3 separate regions of the Homo sapiens genome follow, and regions 1 and 3 are each linked to region 2. The links are contacts of gene promoters, found by promoter capture Hi-C in human tissues and cell types (Jung and others, 2019). All regions are on one chromosome and are shown on one strand. The core of a region is centred on a gene start or on the middle of the fragment in contact, and the rest is flanking DNA. Distances in the headings are between cores, read along the strand shown. Region 1 overlaps GMDS (GDP-mannose 4,6-dehydratase). Region 2 holds the start of FOXC1 (forkhead box C1). Region 3 overlaps GMDS (GDP-mannose 4,6-dehydratase).

Evidence for each region. Contacts are between HindIII fragments. The study calls those that stand out against the background at their distance.
Region 1: a contact is called between a fragment that was not itself captured here and the fragment with the promoter of FOXC1 in region 2, in 1 of the 25 tissues and cell types used here (IMR-90 fibroblasts).
Region 3: a contact is called between a fragment that was not itself captured here and the fragment with the promoter of FOXC1 in region 2, in 1 of the 25 tissues and cell types used here (pancreas).

The regions. Positions count from the first base shown.
Region 1 is chr6:1,792,733-1,796,006 of GRCh38, reverse strand. All of the region lies in intron 7 of GMDS (GDP-mannose 4,6-dehydratase), which reads left to right. Among named protein-coding and RNA genes, the nearest start is that of FOXC1, 180 kb to the right of the region's middle. The HindIII fragment of the contact is 3,808 bases long and covers 1-3,274 here.
Region 2 is chr6:1,608,580-1,611,502 of GRCh38, reverse strand. FOXC1 (forkhead box C1) reads right to left here and starts at 1,588. Exons shown (of 1, transcript NM_001453.3): 1 at 1-1,588. The coding sequence starts at 1,057. RefSeq lists an enhancer at 731-830 and a silencer at 1,161-1,780. The HindIII fragment of the contact is 11,200 bases long and covers 1-2,923 here.
Region 3 is chr6:1,810,479-1,813,550 of GRCh38, reverse strand. The region is part of intron 7 of GMDS (GDP-mannose 4,6-dehydratase); the gene reads left to right. Among named protein-coding and RNA genes, the nearest start is that of FOXC1, 200 kb to the right of the region's middle. The HindIII fragment of the contact is 9,150 bases long and covers 1-3,072 here.

The DNA.
Region 1 (3,274 bases), core at 417-2,916, 180 kb before region 2:
CAGGCATCCTGCTAATTTGGTGGAGTTTGTAGAGAGAAGAGAACTGGCCAGTCCCCGCCTTCCCCCCATCTCTGGCCTCACTGTTTATTGGGTCACTGTGACTATGCAGATTATATATTTCGGATAAATTATTAGCATTCATCTGAGTGCTTATTTAGGGTCCTGTTGCAAATGTTTCTTGAATATTTTAAAATTAAGGAGATGTTTAAATTGAGTACACTGAAATGTGGATGACTGTTAATGTGAATGAACTGCTTTCAGAATAAGAACATTTATTTACAAGTTCTTTAAATTGCAAAGCTTATTATACCATTGAAGCATTTCATGTGAACTTTCTGTTTTGAACTAATCTTTAAATTTTATTTGCATTCAAAGCATATTTCCTCCTGATTTGCCCATTTCTCATTGTTTGATTATCATTTTAAAATCTGTAATGTTTCATTCACCTTTTAATTTTTCCCCAATAAGGAAATACAGTTTATGAGGCACGCATAGATACTCTTCCTAATAAATGATTTAAGAGAAATATATGCATATATGCATCATATATCTGTATGTATATATACAGATATATGGGAAAAGGGATGAATATTCAGAAGGAAGATCAGTAGACTCCACACAGTCATTTTAGCCATTAGACTAGTGTTGTATGCATTAGTGTAATTTTGATGCCTTGTGGGTTTTAGATATAACTGGGAATTCCTTAAAAAACAAAAAATCTGTACCTCAGAGTCTTTGGTAGCATGTAGAAGTCTATGTATGAAAATACATTCATTTTTGATGATGATGATGATTGTTATTATTTTTGAGACGGAGTCTGACTGTGTCACCTTGGCAAGAGTGCAGTAGTGCTGTCTCAGCTCACTGTAACCTCTGCCTCCCGGACTCAAGTGATCCTCCCACCTCAGCCTCCAGAGTAGCTGGGACTACAGGCATGCGCCACCATGCCTGGCTAATTTTTGTGTTTTTGTTTTTGTTTTGTAGAGATGGGGCTTCGCTATGTTTCCCAGGCTGGTCTCAAACTCCTGGGCTCAAGTAATCACCCACCCCACCTCAGCCTCCCAAAGTGCTGGGATTACAGGGGTGAGCCACCGCACCTTGACCCCAGCCTCATTTTAGATTACTTAGGATATCATCGTCCAGGTGCAGTGGCTCACCCCTGTAAATTAACTTTTAAATACATTTAATCTAGAATGGACCATCTGTCTCCTTTTCAGAGGTTCCATATGATTTTTATATATTTGGGATAAGAATGACGTGTCCCGAATAGTACACATATAAAGGTCTTGTCAGGAAATGTATATAGCTCTCAATCAATCTATAAAATGATTTGGGTACCATTGTTAATATCCAGAGTTGAGAGGAAGTTTTGAAAATGATATTTAATCATTCCTTCAACCCAACAGTGTTAACCCTACTGTGTTATGAAGTCAAACTGAGGCCAAATTCTCTAAGGCTAGTACATTTTCTGCAGCTTCTCAGTACCAGATTTGACCTCAGATTCTGTCCCTAGACATAGAACATTCCATGGTTTCGACCACCAACCAAACACCCAGCTTTCTATATAATGCCGTAGTTTCCTTTCCCTGTGATTTTTGCTGATATACATGTGTCTTTGTTTATTTAAATGTTTTGTACCACCTCAGTGGTTTATATATGGTGCTGCAATTTTCCAAGTATTTTTTTTTTTGCCTCAGTGAAGTTATTTTAGAGAATATCTTAGATTAATAAATCTTTGGATTAGAGTAGACATACGTAAATGGGATTTGGAATGCAATTATTTAACTGGAAATCTTCATGGGTTTATCATAAAAGGAGAAAGAACCCTCTAGGTGTTGATAGGGCATTGGAAAAGTGGCCAGTAAATTCATTTCAAAATGTTAGGATAAACTCCTCAGATAGATCCAAACATTATATTTTGTTGTTTCTTTTTTCTCATCCTCCTGGGATAATCATTCACTGACCCAATCTTTGTTTAGAAGTATCCGTCTTCATCCCCTGTTCACTTAAAATGAAGTTATTCCCACGTAAGTGTGTAAAGCCCTTTCCATCATTCCACTTCTACCATTATTGGCGACTCTGTCCTATAGACCTAAGCACATTATATTTTAAACTGAGTACAAACATTTCTTCATTTTTGGCAATAAGCTGGTCAAACTTTCTGTTTTTTTAAAATCTTAGACATTTGGGAGAAGCACTGAGATGTGAGATACACTGGCAGGGAATTTGTGTTTCTCCAGGAATACTAAGCAAAATGAGAAACCCAGAATTCCAGGTGACCATAAAATTGCAGAGAATGAAGGAAAAGGGTAGTAATTTTCCTCTACGTGGCTTTTGACTTCCTTTGGCATTTTAAAGTAGGAAGATGAGCTGCCTTCACAATAAACTATATGTATCACCTCTGTACACAAGGTACTCCAGTCTCCACCTGCGGTGGCTCAGAAACATCCAGGTGTCCTGGAGTTGATGACATTCGCTGACATAAAAGCAGACTCATCAAGTCCATGGACATCTTAAAGATCATAAGTCAGATTTTTGTTCATGAACTTCTTGAAAGAGGTCATTTAAGGTTTCCCACCCTGGTTCAGGCCTACTTTAAGGGGAAATGGAATTTATAAGTTTATCTGAATTTCTTGTAAACTGTTCTGAAGTGAGCTGGAACTCTTAAGCTCATGTTAACCTCTATCTCTATCCCTAGAACAGATTCATAGGCTCCTAAAGCCGTCCTGGAGTAGAGAAGTACCTCACAAATGCATAGTCATTTTATCATGGGTTCTGAGACTATCATAGAACACAGGACATTGGGGAATGTATCATGACCCAGGAAACTGCCCCACAGTGCCCCTGGAGGAAACCTGAAGAAGTCGTTTGTTGAAACTAGAAGAGATCACTATTGCAGTGAGTGTAGATAGGGAAAGGGCATCAAGAAAGGGGTGAAGATGAGATACATGGGGATTAGAGGATATACTGAAGAGTGAAAACGTCTAATAAGAATTTCATAGTGAGAGATGGAAAATATAAGGAAATTATCATATGAATATGTGAAGAAAATTTCCCAGAGCAGAATGTAATTCTTGAGATTGTAAAGGCTGTGTAATTGTCCAGCTCAGTGGATGAACAAAGACCCACACCAAATACTGTTATTGTCATATTTCAGCATTGGAGTTAAAAAGAAGATCATAAAACTTCCAGAAGTACAGATTTCAGACACATGATCAGGAGTAAATTTGGCATTCTATCAATATTGGAATAAGAAGCCAGTAGAGCAAAACCA
Region 2 (2,923 bases), core at 339-2,838:
AGGCGCCGAGCGCCAGCGGGGGTGCGATCCCCGCGCGCGAGGACGCGGCCGCCGAGGCCAGAAGGCCGGAGCTGAGCTCCGCGGCCGCGCTCTGCGGCGACCCCCGCAGCGACGTCATGATGTTGTCCACGCTGAAGCCCTGGCTATGGTGCGGCGGCGGGGCGGAGGGCGCGGGCGGCGGCGGCGCGGAATCCGCACCGTCCAGGCTGAGCGGCCGCGCCGACGGCAGGCTGCCCGGGGGGCTGCTCCCGCTGGACAGGCTGCTGCTGCTGCTGTCGGGGCTCTCGATCTTGGGCACCGCGGCGGCGCTGCCGCTGCCCAGGGCGGCGGCCGGGGACAGGGGCTGGGGCGGCGAGGGGCACGTACCGTTCTCGGTCTTGATGTCCTGGATGCGCACGGGCGGCGGCTGCGGACCGGGCGCGTTGCCGTCGGCCTGCTCCGGCGGCGCGGGCGGGGGCTGGCGGCCGGGCGGGGGCGGCTCCTTGAGGTGCAGCCTGTCCTTCTCCTCCTTGTCCTTCACCGCGTCCTTCTTCTTGAAGCGCCGCCGCCGCCGCAGGAAGCTGCCGTTCTCGAACATGTTGTAGGAGTCCGGGTCCAGCGTCCAGTAGCTGCCCTTGCCCGGCTTCTTGTCGTCGCGCGGCACCTTGACGAAGCACTCGTTGAGCGAGAGGTTGTGGCGGATGCTGTTCTGCCAGCCCTGCTTGTTGTCCCGGTAGAAGGGGAAGCGGTCCATGATGAACTGGTAGATGCCGTTCAGGGTGATCTTCTTGTCCGGGGCGTTCTGGATGGCCATGGTGATGAGCGCGATGTAGCTATAGGGCGGCTTCACCATGTCCTTGGGCTGCGGCTGCGGCGTGTAGGGCCCGTAGGCGCGGGCCATGCCGCCCGGGTACTGCTCGGCGTGCGCAGGGTGCGAGTACACGCTCATGGGGGCCGGCATGGCGGTGTAGCCGCCCCCGGCCGCCGCGGCCGCCGCGCGGTAGTAGCTCTGCTCGCCGCCGAGGTAGGGCACCACTCCCAGGGAGTTGGGGCTGGACACGGAGTAGCGCGCCTGCATGGCCCCCGCTCGCCGCCGCCCCGCGCCGCCCGCCGCCCCCCACCCTCGCTCGGGCCGGGCCGCGCCGCGCCGGCCGCCGAGTCCGAGTCCGGGCCCGGCCGAGCTGGTGCCGGCCCGCTGCGCTGTGCGTCCGGCTGCGCTGCCGCCTCTCCCGGCGCTCGCTGGGGCTGGCTCCTCCGGCGCCTCGGGCTACCTCGGGGCCCGCGCGGCCGCGAGGCGGGGTCGCTGCGAGGGGAGAAGGCCGGGCCCGGCCGCGGCAGACCGCCTTGCAGGAACTCGCGGCGCAGCTTCCAGGCGCAAACGGGGGAAAGCAGACAAAAAGAAAGAACAAGCAGGCGCCCTTCTCGCCACACTGCCTGCGCCTTCCAGGAGACTCTGCCCTGAGCTGCCGGCGAAGGCGGCCAAATAACCAGGGCGGGGGGGGGGGGGGCCGCGCGCCGGCCGCCTGCCCGGGCCCCGCGTCACCTTTTCTCGGTCTCTCGCGCGCCAGCCGCTTAAGGAAGCATTGGGAAAACTTCTGAACTTTTGAGCATCCGTCACCCAGGCGAGGACTTTTTTACGCAGTTACACTTTTTTCCGGGCAGCGGAGCCCCGCCCCGCCAGCGGCGGCAGCCAATGGGAGGTGAGAACCGCCTCCGAATGAGCCGGAGGCCGAGCCCTGCCGGCCCGCTCCCGGAGGCCGGAGGACCGCGGGGCTGACCACACGCGCGCCGGCCGCCCTGGCCCGGGCCCCGGCCCTGCGCCCGCGCCGGCGCCCGGCCCGCCGTCGGTTCGCCCCCCGCAGTCCACCTGCCTGCCGCCGGCGCCCGGCAGACCTCCCACCCCGGGCCCTCCGGACCCACGCCCGCCGTTCGCGCAGACTTCCTGGGTCCTCCCGGGACCCCGTGCAGACCCTTCCTTCGCCCACGGCTCCCGAGTGGCCCTGGCGTCTCCGCCCCGCCTCGTGCTGGCTCGCTCTCATTCCTTCGCCAGCCCCGCCGACGCCAGCGCTGGGGTTGCCCCAGCCTCTCCTCCCCGCCGCCTCTCCCCTCCCGCAGCCCCTTCCCTCCCTTCTCCAACGCCAGTCTCACTCGGGTCACTGACGTCTCCGGCTTTTCTCCACTTGGAGGTTCTCCTGTCCTGAACTCGGCTACAAAGGACATGATTTTGAGGGCTCGGTCACAGCCAGGCCCTGCTCGCGGTGGGGAAGAAGGTTCGTCGCCCATCTGGCCCCCCTCCATGACCCCTCCCCAGCCGAAATGAAGGCAAGGGGTGCGGGGCCCTGCTGGGAGTTTCCGACGGCCGTTCACCCGCGAAGGATGAGCCCGCCCCGCTGCGGGCCGCCCTGCTTCTCGCCCCCCTCCCCGGGGGGCCGGCCCTTGGCGGCCTGAGGGTGCGGGCGGCGAGGGCTGCCGGAGCCCGGCTGCTGCCCCGCGCTCCCCTGCCCGCCCGCGAGGGTCCCACCGGCTCGCCGCGCCGCCGCCCCCTCTGATCCCGTCAGGCCCGTTTCGGCTCAGATGAGGGGTCAGGCTGCGGGCTCGGTGACATTAGCAGGTGTGATGACAAGAAGCAAATAAATATGTCTAAGAGCTTAACGCTTCCCCAGGCCAGTCTCCATCTCCACATGCGCGGGGCTGCCGGCTCGCAGAGACAACGGGTGTGTCTGGGGGAACGTCCAGGGTCGCACCTAGAGGGCGGTTCAAGGATTCTGGGGGGACACGCACGGAAGGGCCCCCGCTCGTTGTGCACACGCCTGAGATTCGCCGTCGCTGGGTGGTTGGAATGGGACAGGAAGAAGAGAAATGAGGGAAAGAAACGAAGGAGCGGGAAAGAGCCAGGCCTCCCTCCCCCGGCACGGCGATTCTGCATTTTAGCGACTTGAGGAGA
Region 3 (3,072 bases), core at 224-2,723, 200 kb before region 2:
TTAGGAATTTTATGATTCTTTCTGTCTCCTGGGACATCATGTAAAGTTTTCAAATGATAAAAGAAGCCTCAAAAAGTTATTTCTTTTTCTCAAGTCAGGTGAAGATAGGAATGGCTCAGGAGTAGCAGTTTCTAAAATAACCTCACTTAGGCATTGAGCGCTGGGTTTCTCTTCTGAACCTTCATCTAACGAACGCTTTAAAGTGATTAGCTTAGAAAAAAATAATTCTTATTCTTTCCCAAGATTCTTGAAAACATATTGATTCTTAATATCTAATTTTATTTCAATTTTTTTAATTAAGGTTTTTTTTTTTTTTTTTTTTTTTTTAAGAGACAGAGTCTTGCTCTGTCACACAGGCTTCAGTGCGGCGGCACATTCACAGCTTCCTGTAGCCTTGAACTCCTAGGCTCAAGTCATCTTCCCGCCTCAGCCTCCTGAGTAGCTGGGACTGTGCTCATACACCACCAGACCCAGCTAATTAAAAAAAATTTTTTTGGTAGAGATGGGGTTTTGCTGTGTTAGCCCAGCTGGTCTCGACCGCCTCAAGCAGTCCTCCTGCCTTGGTCTCCCGAAGTTCTGGGATTACAGGCATGAGCCACCATGCTTGGCTTAATAACTTATTTTAGAAGCACCTAGAGAATAATAAAAAAGATAAAGCAATAAAAGCACTAACAAAAATAAATTTCTGTTCCCAGTATACATTCTTTTTGTACTGAAGTCTAAGAAATCTACATCAAACTGAGCCTTTTGTTTTCTTTTCAAAAACAGATGAAAAAACCATCTACCTCCTCTTCAATGAGACTGAGAATTTACACTAACAAATCTCAAACCTGGTTGCATAATAACTGCAGCTTCCTCAGCCCCTGGTTTGCAGATCCTGAATCAGTCGGTGGGGGGTTTGGGAACTGGAATCGAGTTGTCCTCCTCCTGTTCTGGTGTCTCTGACCTGCTCCCTTCCTTTTGTGGCTTCTCCTCTGTGTCCCCTTTGCTGCCCCTTCTCTTCCTCTTCCTCCTCTCCCTCTCCCCCTTGCCTTTCTTTCCTCTGCCCTTTCTTCTTTTTTTCCCCTCAGATCCTCCTCCTGAGTTTCCTAGAAGATTCTACAGCTGCCAACACTGGGAACCTCTGGTTTGCTCTACTTTTCTAAATTTACTGTTAGCGAAACTGTGGAGGCCCCAGTAGGTAATCCTCTGGTCCTAGTTTATGGACTGAAATCCCCCTTCTCACGCTCTCTTCACATCAGTCACCAGGGTCCTGGGCCTTTCTTTAACTTGCTCTGTGCTCGGAGTCCTGTGTACTTTGCTGGTCCTGTTTACTCTGCCTGGACTACACAGCCTCTCCCTGGCTTGTGAGCTCCTCCTCGTTCTATAAGGTCCTCCTCTAAAATGTTGCCTCTGTGAGTTTTGCGCCAATCTACCTTTTACACCATTCAAAACGAATTCCTCTCTCTGCGGTACTTCTATAGCACTAGTGCAGATCTGTATTTAGCATTTATTAGATCTTAATTGTAGATCTCTTCCCCTACTTGACTATGATTCCTCGGACAGTAGAAAGGTATCATTTGTATATTTCCAGCAGTGTACCTGGAACATAGTAGGTGTACAATGAACATTGGTTAAATGAATATCAGAGCTTTTGATTCTAATATGAAAACAGAGCTTTTTAAAATTAGGTACTTAATTTCTAGTGGATTTGTGTTAGATAGCCCAAGAGAATTCTGTGGACATTGTACTGTAATGGACCATCAAACTTACTCAAAGAATTGCAGATAGCAAAATAGGAATAGAAAACCAGTACATCACTGTCATTAAACGTGGAGTGCCTACTGTGTGCAGTGGCAGTGGAGGATGAGCAGTATTTGCATCTTTCAGTGAGGCACGAAGGTTGTGCCTGTAGATGTTTCAAATGCTTGTTGTAACAGGAAGCAAGACACCTCTTTCCCGTAAGTCTCCAGAAAGCATTGTGAAGGGCTTCAGTTGAAAAAAAAAAAAAAAAAAGCTTGACTAGTCTAAATATTTTAATTATTGTACAAATAAGATTTTGTGTCTTAAAGATACAATAAAATGAAATAATCTACTCCAGTTAAAAGCAGTACTCATTTATTTCATTTATTGAAGGTGTTTTTAATCACCTACTCTGTGAAAAATACTGGAGAATTATAACTAGACATTAATAAAACTCAGCTGATAAGGCTTCCATGACTTGTTTGTCCAAATGTCTATTCATGGCAGTTCAAACTTCATGGCATCATACTGAATATTAGAAAAGATCGCAAGAGTATGTTCTTAGATGACTTTTATGGAAAAGGACATATTTCTTTTTGACAAGGGTGAAAGATCTTAAATAATTATTTTATCATTTCAACTTCAGAAATATATGAGCGTTTACTCAGCACAGCATTGTCTTGTGGTCAGTGAAGTAATCAGAAAACCAAAAGAAGACTGTAAAAGTCTTTCCTCTAAACACAGGACCAGCTCTCATCAAGATTCTGTTTCATGTTGTCAGAATCTTCCTAAAACAATTACAAACCACTTTACAGCAATACTGGGAGAGGGAAAAAAAAAACTAGGAGAAAAGACAAGCTCATGCCTAAGTATCATTGTGAGATACTTCCCGTTTCCACAGAAAATGCCACAAGGATACATAATTGCCACAAAGGTATGTTTTTAGTTTCCATTATTGTTCTGTTTAAAAGCCAAAATGCCTAACTTTGATCATTAAATGGTGTTCTAATGAAATTAGCCACAGTGATAAAGGAATAATCGTTCTAAATGCCAATCTGATCTCGCCATTGGCCTGCTTGTCTGCAAGGTTATGTCCAGTCATCTCCTTTGGCTGAGGAAACCCTTAGTAATTTTGACCCCTGCCAACCTTCCCTCTTCCCCTCCTCCCTGTCTGTTCCCTGGCAGATCAGGCTCTTCACGCCTCTTTCACATACCCTGCTCCCCCTGCCATAAAACTGCTCCTTTCAGCCAGGTGTGGTGGCTCACGCCTGTAACCCTAGCACTCTGGGAGGCCGAGGCAGGTGGATCACCTGAGGTCAAGAGTTCGAGACCAGCCTGGCCAACACAGTG